Linked DNA regions of Homo sapiens: regions 1 and 2 are each linked to region 3. Evidence: promoter capture Hi-C in human tissues and cell types (Jung and others, 2019). All regions are on one chromosome and are shown on one strand. Each heading gives the region's core, a stretch centred on a gene start or on the middle of the fragment in contact. The rest is flanking DNA. Distances are from core to core; before and after follow the strand shown.

The links. The method cuts DNA at HindIII sites, captures the fragments that hold promoters and counts their contacts. A contact is called where the count stands out against the background at its distance.
Region 1: a contact is called between a fragment that was not itself captured here and the fragment with the promoter of PRPH in region 3, in 2 of the 25 tissues and cell types used here (liver and spleen).
Region 2: a fragment that was not itself captured here is called in contact with the fragment with the promoter of PRPH in region 3 in 1 of the 25 tissues and cell types used here (lymphoblastoid cells).

Annotation. Positions count from the first base shown.
Region 1 is chr12:49,461,459-49,465,298 of GRCh38, reverse strand. All of the region lies in intron 3 of SPATS2 (spermatogenesis associated serine rich 2), which reads right to left. Among named protein-coding and RNA genes, the nearest start is that of KCNH3, 76 kb to the left of the region's middle. The HindIII fragment of the contact is 4,568 bases long and covers 86-3,840 here.
Region 2 is chr12:49,422,337-49,426,053 of GRCh38, reverse strand. The region is part of intron 2 of SPATS2 (spermatogenesis associated serine rich 2); the gene reads right to left. Among named protein-coding and RNA genes, the nearest start is that of SPATS2, 57 kb to the right of the region's middle. The HindIII fragment of the contact is 9,368 bases long and covers 1-3,717 here.
Region 3 is chr12:49,292,454-49,296,424 of GRCh38, reverse strand. PRPH (peripherin) reads right to left here and starts at 1,278. Exons shown (of 9, transcript NM_006262.4): 1 at 680-1,278; 2 at 187-247. The coding sequence starts at 1,224. TROAP-AS1 (TROAP and PRPH antisense RNA 1) reads left to right here. Exons shown (of 8, transcript NR_120449.1): 6 at 1-1,165; 7 at 1,890-1,977; 8 at 2,529-3,794. RefSeq lists enhancers at 346-1,262, 1,263-2,180, 2,260-3,022, 3,023-3,786. The HindIII fragment of the contact is 28,443 bases long and covers 1-3,971 here.

The sequences.
Region 1 (3,840 bases), core at 1,120-3,619, 170 kb before region 3:
GTAAAACTGTGTATCGCCACCTTGGAAAACAGTCTGGAAGTTTCTTACAAAGTTAAAGAAGTCCACTCCTAAGTACCTCCACAAGAGAAATGCAAACACATGTCCACATAAAGACTTGTAAGCAAATGTACATAATTGACAATCATTCATAACAGCACAAACTACAATCCAAAATGAATAGCAACTGTTAAATGGATAAATGTGTTATAACAAGACTACTTAGTAGTAAAAAGGAGCAAACTACTGACACATTCAACAATATGGAGGAACCTTAAAAACATTACACTAAGTGAAAAGAAGCCAGACATAATATCTATATTGTACTAATATGTGTATATGAAATTTCTAGAAAATGCAAAAATAAAGTGACAGAAGATCAATGTTTGCCTGTGGCTGGGGTAGGGAGCAGGAATTGATCACAAACAAGAGAATATTGGGGGATAAGGAAAAGAGGGTTTTGTTTCTGTTTTTTTAAGAGACATGGTCCCGCTCTGTCACCCAGGCTAGAGTGTAGTGATCATAGCTCACTGTAGCCTCAAATTCCTGGGCTCAAGTAATCCTCCCACCTCAGCCTCCCAAATAGCTGGGACTGTAACAGGCATGTGTCAGTATAATTGGCTAATTTTTTTATTTTTTGTAGAAACAGAGTCCTTTTTTTTTTTTTTTTTTTTAAGATGGAGTTTTGCTCTTGTTGCCCAGGCTGGAGTGCAATGGCACGATCTCGGCTCATCGCAACCTCCACCTCCCGGGTTCAAGCGATTCTCCTGCCTCAGCCTCCTGAGTAGCTGGGATTACAGGCATGCACCACCACACCCAGCTAATTTTTTTTTTTTTTTTTTTAAGCAGAGACAGGGTTTCTCCATGTTGGTTAGGCTAGTCTCGAACTCCCAACCTCAGATGATCTGCCCACCTTGTCCTCCCAAAGTGCTGGGATTACAGGCGTGAGCCACCACACCTGGCTAAGACAGAGTCTTACTATGTTGTCCAGGCTGATTTTGAACTCCTGGCTTCAAGCCATTCTCCTGCCTCAGCCTCCCTAAGTGCTGAGATTATAGGCTTTAGCTACCACACCCAGTCGGAAAGTGTTTTAAAACAAGATTTTGGTGATGGTGCACAACTCCATAAATTTACTAAAAATAATCAAATTATACACTTGGGCAAATTTTAAGGTATTTAAATTATACCTCAATAAAACTGTGTTTAAAAGGGCTTAGATGTTGCCACACTGTCAAATCACTATCAAAGAGTTCCTAAACACTCTTCATTTCTATATACTTCTCCAGTTCACAGACAGGAATAGGGTCTACAGCCCACACTCTAAGAAGCACAGCTCTGACTTCTGCTAGATATTGGCTAATAGGCTTGGAGTAATCAATAGTTTTAACTGAAACTGACTTAATTTAATTTAAGCTGTTCAAGTTTAACTCCACTAAGTATTTCATTAAATAAGGAATTTACAAGTATTACTGACAAAAGGAAAATATGAAAACATGGTCTATTGCTGAATAAAAACATAACTCATTACAAAATGAGAGCCTGTAAATGAAATACCACTAAGAACAATGACTACCATAGACCCTTCTTTTTAATGTAGTATAACCAAGTTGATAAAGTCAGTGTATTTACAGATTAGACTACTAAAACCCAAAGCAATGACACTTTAAACGTATAAATGAATAAATGAAATGTTGTAATATTTTATATGTCATGGGACCAAATATCAGACATGCAAATGAATTACATGCATAGATTTGTTTCAGAGAAAGTCCCAACAACACATAAGCTTTACTTTGTTTCCAACTAAGTGTAAATCTAGGCTAAGTTCAACCAAAACTGGTAAGCACTTAGTGTCTATGTTGTAGTCTATTTTTTTTTTTTTTTTTTTTGAGACAGAGTCTCTCTCTGTTGCCCAGGCTGGAGTGCAGTGGCATGATCTCTGCTCACTGCAAGCTCCGCCTCCTGGGTTCACACCATTCTCCTGCCTCAGCCTCCTGAGTAGCTGGGACTACAGGCACCCGCCACCACGCCCGGCTAATTTTTTTTTTTTTTGTATTTTTAGTAGAGACGGGGTTTCACTGTGTTAGCCAGCATGGTCTCAATCTCCTGACCTTGTGACCCACCCACCTCGGCCTCCCAAAGTGCTGGGATTATAGGCGTGAGCCACCAGACCCGGCCTATGTTGTAGTCTAAAATTTAAATTCTTTTATAGTTAATATTTAAATTCATTTTATAGTAATTAGAAAAAAGCAACTGATGGGGACAGGAGGCAGAGAAATTCTAGGCAGAAAAGGGTGGGTCACCGGTTAAAACGCCACCCTCAAGCCAAAATGCCTGAAACCTTGGCCCAATGTGAGAACTTATATCTCTGTTTTCCTGTTTGTTGCCTTTTCCTAAACCACCCATGGCCCCACCCTGCCCCATTCTGTGCCTATAAAGACCCCAGACTCAGCTGGCAGAGAGGAGAACTAGCTGGACGTCAGGATGTCGGAGAGAAGTGGGTTGACTTTAGAGGGACAGCTTGATGGTGTAACTTTGGAGAAAAAACTAGCTGGAGACAGCTGGACTTCAGGGAAAGATTATCTACCCGCACCCCACCAACCCCTTTTCAGCTCCCCTTCCTGCTAAAAGCCACTTTCATCAGCAATAAAATCTCCCGCATTTACCATCCTTCAATTCATTCGTGTGACCTCATTTTTCCTGGACACCAGACAAGAGCTCAGGAGCCACGAGTGCAGATACAAAAGGCTGTCACACTGGCCCTTTGCCCTTGCTGGCAGAGGGCAGCCACCCCACACACGGGGGGAAAGGGCCCACTGAGCTGTTAACACTTAAGCCGTCCACAAATGGCAGAGCCAGAAGAGCACTGTAACATGCCCTCTGGAGCTTCGGGGGTCACAGGCACCCCACAGCCTGGATGCTGCCACGGGGCCCACACAGAGTTCACCCCTGCTGGTACTGAAGCAGCCAGCCGGTTCCAGCACTCATGCCCTCCAGTTCCTTCCTTGTTCACTCGCGCTCTCCTTCCTGTGAGGAGTTGAGAGAGGCAGGCTGAGTAAAGGAGAGACTCCTGCAAAGGGGCCAGGGAAATATCCTGCTTCACAATGATACTTTTTTTCTACAGCTCTGGCAAAACACAGACATGAAATAAAGACTCTCTAGTTTTAAAAAGGTCAAAGTAATTTGCTGAAGTTAACTTTTTTTTTGGAAAAATTAAATGCTCAACTTTTCCAGAACCCTATTTTTACTATAGTATTTCTCATTTGCAGGGTGAAAACAGATGCTCAATGTTTCAAGCATAACTGGGAAAAAACAAACTGAATTATAACAACTAAGAAAAAACAAACTTGGGTTATTAAAAAAAACTTTTCCGTTGGTAAATTTCATTCCACAGAACAGTTCAGCTTTAGTAATCTAAGCATTCCTTAGAGCTCAGATTCTTCCTATAGATTTACTACACAATGAAGCTACAACTACAAATCTGGTTTATTTACTTTCTTATAAGGTTTTTGAATTATCAAGTCAAAATTAGGTTTAAAAGAATTTTCTTCATATTTAACATGTGAGACCTGGATCTATGAATAGCTTTGCTTTGAATTAAAGAACATTAACTTTGAACTGGAAATTAAATTGAATGAGGGGAAAACGCCAAGATATCTATGATCATTCTTTTAATCAATATATTCCAATTATGTACAATAGTTCTAGTGCTGTTGTTCACTTTGTCCCTTGAAATTTTTGCAGCTATTCTAGAAAAGTAGAAAAAGGTTTTACAAAGTCTTTGTTGTCCTTCCCTCCATTATAACTACCCTTCTATTTCCTGACTCTTTGCACCTTGTATTT
Region 2 (3,717 bases), core at 750-3,249, 130 kb before region 3:
CTTTTCTCTTCCCACTATGCAATACTTACTAAGAGTCTAATCTATTTGTTGTTCTCAAACCTACTTAATGCCAGTTGTGCTCATAATTACAATTACATAATTGTCATGAAATATTAATACTGGCTGGGCATGGTGGCTGACACCTGTAATCCCAGCACTTTGGGAGGCCAAGGCAGGCAGATCGCTTGAGGTCAGGAGTTCGAGACCAGCCTGGCCAACGTGGTGAAACCCCCGTCTCTACTAAAAATACAAAAAAATTAGCTGGGTATGGTGGCATGCGCCTGTAATCCCAGCTACTTGGGAGGCTGAGGCAGGAGAATTGCTTGAACCTGGGAGGCAGAGGATGCAGTGAGCTGAGATCGTGCCACTGCACTCCAGCCTGGGCAACAGAGAAGACTCCGTCTCAAAAAAGACAGAAATATTAACACTTACATGGCCGGACGTGGTGGCTCATGCCTGTAATCCCAGCACTTTGGGAGGCCAAGGTAGATGGATCGCTTGATCCCAGGAGTTCGAGACGAGCCTGGGCAACATAGCAATACCCCATCTCTATAAAAAATGTAAAAATTAGCCAGGCACGATGGCACACGCCTGTAGTCCCAGCTACTCGGGAGGCTAAGGTAGGAGGATCACCTGAGCTGTGATAGCACCACTGCACTTCAGCCTCTGCAACAGAGTGAGACCCTGTCTACAAAAAAGAAAAGAAAAACAAAAGTAAATACATCAATAAACTATAAGAAAAATTATTTCTTTAAAAACTAAACAGAAGGCTCTAGAAGACTGAACCAATACAAATTATTTTTAAAACTGTCCTCAATTTAAGTGTGGGTGAGACACATATACAAGTTGGGAGGGAAATTAAAAATCTAAAAAAAGGGTTTGTACTCATTGCTTCAAGTCTCTAAGAGTTCTCACTCTGCTTAAAAAAACCGTAAATAGAAGTTGCAAGAATGTATCACAGGGTGTAATTAATGCCAAAAATATGAAGAATTCTAATCAGCAAACTCATACTAAATACATCAAAGATTGGTGAATAAATGTACATTTGTTTTAAGCTAAAATAAAATACTATGGGCCAGGTGTGGTGGCTCACTCCTGTTATCCCAGCACTTTGGGAGGCCAAGCGGGAGTGGATCATCCGAGGTCAGGAGTTCCAGACCATCCTGGCCAACACGGCGAAACCCCATCTCTACTAAAAGTACAAAAATTAGCTGGGCGTGGTGGTGGGTGCCTGTAATCCCAGCTACTTGGGAGGCTGAGGCAGGAGAATCACTTGAATCTGGTGGGGGGCGGAGGTTGCAGTGAGCCAAGATCTCGCCACTTCACTCCAGGCTGGGCAAAAGAGCAAAACTCCATCTCAAACAAACAAAACAAATAAAAAATACTATGGTACGTATGTATCATTTTTTATTTCCTGCTTTAATCAACTTTCCCAATTAACAGTAAACACTATATAAGATATAATAGTAACAGATAAGAGAACTATAATCACAGAAACTTTGCCCTAATAACTTTTGGCAAACTAATACAATCTACTAGACAGATAAAACAAAAATACTAACTGTCAACAAGTCTACCTATTATAATGACAAAAGATAAATCAAACTGACCAAAGCTGAGACTGTTGTGCTTAAAAGCATATGCCTCTGGGGCCACATTAGCTATTCTCATTAATCAAAAGGGCACCATGGTTCCCTATGCAGGTATGTTCTGGTTAATATCACAGATGTCTCAGAAGAAGATGGCTGCTGAACGGACTACATGGGGCTGAGGAACAAAGGTCTGAGTATCACTGAAGTAGAAAAATAATGGTCTGAGTTTGTTTTTTTTGTTTGTTTGTTTGTTTGTTTTGAGACAGAGTCCCGTTCTGTTGCCCAGGCTGGAGTGCAGTGGCAGGATCTCAGCTCACTGCAACCTCCACCTCTCGGGTTCAAGTGATTCTCCTGCCTCAGCCTCCCGAGCAGCTGGGATTACAGGCGCATACCACCATGCCTGGCTAATTTTTGTATTTTTAGTAGAAATGGAGTTTCGCCATGTTGGCCAGGCTGGTCTCAAACTCCTAACCTCAAGTGATTTGCCCGCCTTGGCCTCCCAAAGTGCTGAGATTACAGGAGTGAGCCACTGCGCCTGGTCTGAGTTCTCTTAATAGAAAAAACAAGAGATTTTTACTAATAAATTTGCCCTCAGAGTTAAACTTTTCTCCGTAACATAATATTTAAAATGCCTTCCCTGACTCTGATATAAATCATAGGTTTCTCAGAAAAAAACAATAAAATTCATGTTACACAACAACATCCATTTAGGTGAATTTGGGTACGACAGTTACTTACAGGGTTTCTTTAAATCCATTGATTGAAAGCATCAGAGGACTCTCAGTGATAGAACTTTAAACTTTCTCATTTCATTCATTATTCAACTAATATTCATTGAATGCTTATAATTTTCTAAGCTTTGTGAGAGTTTGGGTGGGAGGATGATGCTCTTTCAGTTTCATGGAAGAATTATGGTATATCAGAATGCAAGGAGGCTTCAATATGAGAGCAGGTTGTGGAAAAGTGGGGACCAAGCCACTTAACTATTCAACTGTTTGACAATAAAGGGATTTTAAAAAATAGAGTATTAGGCCAGGCGCGGTGGCTCACGCCCGTAATCCTAGCACTGTGGGAGATCAAGGCAGGAGGATCACTTGAGGTCAGGAGTTCGAGACCAGCCTGGCCAACATGGGGAAACCCTGTCTCTACTAAAACTACAAAAATTATCTGGTGTGGTGGTGCGTGCCTGTAGTCCTGGCTACTCGGGAGGCTGAGGCAGGAGAATCGCTTGAACCCATGAGGCAGACACTGCAGTGAGCCGAGATCGCACCACTGCACTCCAGCCTGGGCAACAGAGACTTCATCTCAAAAAAAAAAAACAAAAACAGTATTAACCAGAGTGCTAGCAAGGCAAAGCAAAAGGGGTTTTCCCCCAAATAGGGAAGACTTTTTTCTTTGAAAAGGGATGAGGACATAAAACATAAAACAGAGAAAGGTAATACTTATTGGAGTAGAAAATAAGGGAGGAGCAACATACAAAGGTAATCAAAGACCAAATTAATCTTACATTCACATAGTCACAGTCAATTAAAAAAATTTTTTTTTTTTTTTAAATAGGGTCTGGTTCTGTTTCCCAGGCTGGAGTGCTGTGGCACGGTCTTGGCTCACTGTAACCTCCATCTCCTGGGCTCAAACGATTCTCCTACCTAAGCCTCCTGAGTAGCTGGGAATACAAGCACACGCCACCACATGCAGCTAGTTTTTGTATCTTTTGTAGAGATGGGGTTTCACAATGTTGCCTTGCGCAGGCTGATCTCGAACTCCGGAGCTCAAGTTCAAGCGGTCTGCCCATCTTGGCCTCCCAAAGTGCTGGGATTACAGGCGTGAGCCACCATGCCAACCCTAATCTTTATTGAATGCTTACTATAGGCCAGGAACTATACTAATAATGCAATTTTATATGCATTATCAAAAATCTTCACAAAAACTCTGTTAGGTAAAAGAAACATACTTCTGAAACAAACAAAAAGACAAAAATAACTAGAGGGAAGATTAAGGAGGTCATACCAAATGACTGCAACTTTTTAGTTATGGAAACAGAAGGAAAAAAAAGCAGGAAGGCTTGAGGGCTTGAGAGGAACAGATAAGAAACTAACATTTACTGCCTACTATGTGCCAGCCACTG
Region 3 (3,971 bases), core at 29-2,528:
GGGTGGCAGTGGAGGTTCAAGATAAGTTAGGGGCTGCGCAGACCAAGGAAGGACCAGGCCTTCCCTGTCTGCCTCAGGAGGCATCTGGGTTACCCCCTTCTCCCCGCGCCCACCGATGCCACCTCTGGATACTGAGATCGGGGGTAGCGGTGGGGAGGCTGAACTCGGAGAGGGGCTCGGACTCACCTTGCGGAAGAGCACGAGGTTGTGCTCCGCGTCCTCCCGCTTGCGCGTCTCCTCCTCCAACCTGACGGGAAGAGCGTGCAGAGGCTGAACTGCGGGGTCGCCGCCCAGCTCGCACCCCAGACCGCACGCCCCCCAGGATCCGGTTAGAGGCTGTTCTGCTGCCCAGGACTCTAAATGGAGGGCTGAGGCTGTCTAATGGAATTGCCCCGCATTGTCTCTAACGGACTGGGAGCTGAAAAGGGGGTTTCCTCATTACTCAGGGGAGGCACAGATACCCACTTCTCCCACCTCCCCAAACACTCAGAGCAAAGGGGTAGCGGGGGGCACTTGGAGCCCGTGGGCAGGGATGCTGCCCGCACACACCTGGGTTGGTAAGGGGAGCCACACCCTTGGGCTGCTGATGGAGAGGGGAAGCGAGGGGAGGCAAGAGCAGCCGCCTCGACGGCCGCTTCGACCTCGCCTCGACGGCAGCGGCCCAGCCCTGCCCCCTGACCTCTGCTTGAGCGCCGCCAGGTCCTCCGCCAGCCCGTCGCGCTCCACCTGCACCCGGTCACGCTCGCGGCCCAACAGCTCCAGCTCTCGCCGCAGCTCGCGCAGCTCCTGCTGGCACAGCTGGTCGGCGCGCGCCGGCTCCTGGCCCCGGGCTTGGCTCAGCTCCCCGCGCAGGGCCGCGTTCTGCTGCTCCAGAAAGCGTACCTTCTCGATGAAGTTGGCGAAGCGGTCGTTGAGCTCCTGCAGCTCCTGCTTCTCGTTGCTGCGCGTGGCCAGGAACTCCTGGTTGAGGGCCTCGGCCATGGAGAAGTCGAGGCGCTCCGAGGGCAGGCGCAGGAGGGCGCCCGCTCCCGCTCGGGGGCTACGGAAGCTGCCCAGGCGCACCGAGGAGCTCGGGGACGCGGAGCCCAGCAGGCGGCTGCTGGAGAAGCGGGAGCTGGACGAGTAGGAGAAGGCCCCGGGGGATAGTGAGGGCGGTGGACCGAAGGTACGGCGGTATGAGGTGGAGCTGAAGCCGGCCCGGAGGCCCGACGGGTGGTGGCTCATTGCGGCCAAGGATGGGCAGTCACCGTTCGCAGAGCTAGGCCGGGGGCTGGGAAGGAGCCGCAGACCGCTGCGAGGCGGCTTTATAGCCCTGCGGTCTCAGGGGGGGCACGGGCAGCTCCTCCCACTGGCCTGATGGCCCGCTGGAGGGGGGTTGTATGGGGAGGGGGATGCCCCACCCCTGCGGAACAGCAGGAGCGCCTTCCCCTCCCTTCCCTGGTTGCAGGCCTCTACCCACTTGATTGCCCCCTGTTGCCGCTGGGGTGGGGGTCACTTCCTCCCAACAAGCACCCAAAGCTAGAACCTAGGGTAGGAAGGCCTGACTTGAACTAGAGTCCCTGAAAATTGCGAGGTAGAAGGACCTGAAGTTAAAGGGCAGGCTTCTGGCACAGGAGTAGGGAGGAGGCCAGCTGGAGGGAGAGTTGACCTGGCTTAGGCCCCATAGCTAGTGCCTTGACTTGCCCCCTGAAGGCCAGGCTCTATTTTCACCTGCTGTCAGCTACCCCTCCTTCACCACACCCAGAGAGGAATAGGAGACAGGGGCGCAGAGGCAGATCGGGCTGGGGAAGAGCTACTCTCCCTAATCCCCAGGGCCCTGTGAAGGGCTGGTGCCTGGCGCCAGCTCTGCTGCTAATGGGCTGACCAGCCCCCCTCCCCCTCCCCTGAAGACGGCCCAGCAGAGGTTGTCTGCTGATGTTTCAGCCTTAAAGACACAGCCCCCAAACCTAGACCTACCCCGCAACAAGCCCCAATGAGGTGGGTACATCATAGGGGGCTGAGGGTGGCTGGACCCAGCTCTGGATCCCACTCGGGAGGGTCTGCCCCATGCCACGGGCTGGGCTAAGTGGGCCTTTTGTATTCTGTCTTGGTTTACTGGATTCTCCCTCCCCCCAACCCCACACCAATTGCTGCTCAGTCATGGGCTTTACAGGAACCAGAGTGATTCCTGAGGTAGGAAGGGGAGGGGGCTGAGGGGCAACAGCGGCTGCCAAGGCTGAGAGATGGATGGACTGGCAGGAGCTGGTTTCCAGTATTGATGAGTTGCAGGTACCAGGGATGGGTGGGGCTGGATGGGGAAGAGATGGGGAAAGAGAAAGTGCCCATCCCCAGCAGTCTGAAAGAGAGAAGGCCCCAGAACAGGTCCACAAACCTGCGCACGCAAACAGATGCATACACACAGCTTTGTATATCTATGCGCACACACACTACATACACACACATACACACACAATCACACATCCCACCACACCCTCCCCTACTCCAGAGTTAGCGAGAAGGCTGATATCTGGCCTTTGTATGTCAAACAGCTTCCAGAATGCAAGCACAACCTGCCCAGGAGTGGACAGAGGCAGCTCGGATGGTCTGCAGGAGCCGGGTTGCTGAGGTCTGCTGGGTTTGCCAGGAACCATAGGGCTGGGGCTGCTGCTGCTGCTGGGGACTCCAGCGCTGTCCTGTGAGACAGGTCTGCCTCAGATGGGACCTGAGGACAAGAGAGTGCATCTGGGGAAGCAGGTTTCAGGTTCCTGCCTGGATATCTGGCTGGGGGTAAGGAGGGCGGCTCCCTGGCTGGCCAGCTCCTCAGTATTGCAGGGCAGCAGCCCCCTCCCCCCTTTGTGCGTCCTGTGAGATGGGCCAGGGCCAACGCCCTGCTCACGTCCCTACCGCCTTCGTCTCCTTTCCAGGCCCCTCCTTCCTTCCGGGCCATTAGTCTCTCCCTGCACAGCTGCCAGTTCCTTCTCCTTGATGGGTCTGGTTTGGTTGCCAGGGGAGTGGGAAGCGGGAGGAAGGGAGAGATGGGACAGGACGAATAAATGACAGCTTGGCCTCCCCTAACTCCTGGGAATTGGGAGGGGTAGGGTCCCACCCGGGATAGGGCCGGGAGGCTTGGTGGGTGTGAGGAGGGGCTAGGGAAGCCTTGGTGCTTCCTGCCGCAGTCCTGGGCACTGAGCCCCAGCTGCTGTTGGCCTGGAGCCCCATCTATCCCGGATTTGGCCCCACCCTCCAGGAGCAGGGAGCCAGCTCTGCATCAGGAGAGGCGGGCAAGGCCTGGGGAGGACCAGCTCAGGCCCTGTCTACAGGGCACTAGTGGGGGACCCAAGCCTCTGAGAGTAGAGGCTGCTGGGGCTGCAGCTGGGCCTGGGGAGTTCCAGATGGAGTTCCCGTCCTCACCCTGCTTAAGGGCTCCGCTGGCCACCTACATGCCTCGGAGGAGAAGGGACAGAGGGCTGCCACAGCAGGGCTCTGGAGCTGTGGATCAGGCCTGGGTGGGGAACTGCCAGGCAGAAGAGGCTCCTCCCCTAAAGCAGAAGGAGCAGGCCAGCAACTCCAGGCGGAGCAAAGGTAGGCAAAGAGTCTGGGTTAAGAGCCGGGCTCTGGCATCCAGCTGCCACACTTCCCATCTGATCCACCACTCTGTTGTAGAATTTAGGCTCGTCACTACGTCCCTTCATGTCCCTCAAGAAAAGGGAGATAACTAACTGTAGCTTCTACCTCATAGTGTTGTTGGGAGGACTAAAGGAATAAATAAATACATGTGAAGTGCTTAGGACACACATCTTAAAGCCTGAAAATGGAAGCTGGTTTTATTATTGCTATTATTATTAACCTCCAGAGTGATAATGTCAGCCCCAAGAGCAGTGAGAGTCTGGGCTTCTTTTGGACTGTGCCCCTGGTTGCTGAAAGTAGTGCTTGGACCCAAGGCGGAAGAAGCCAAGTCCTCCCTGGCCTCATCCTCCCCTGGTGGACCGGGA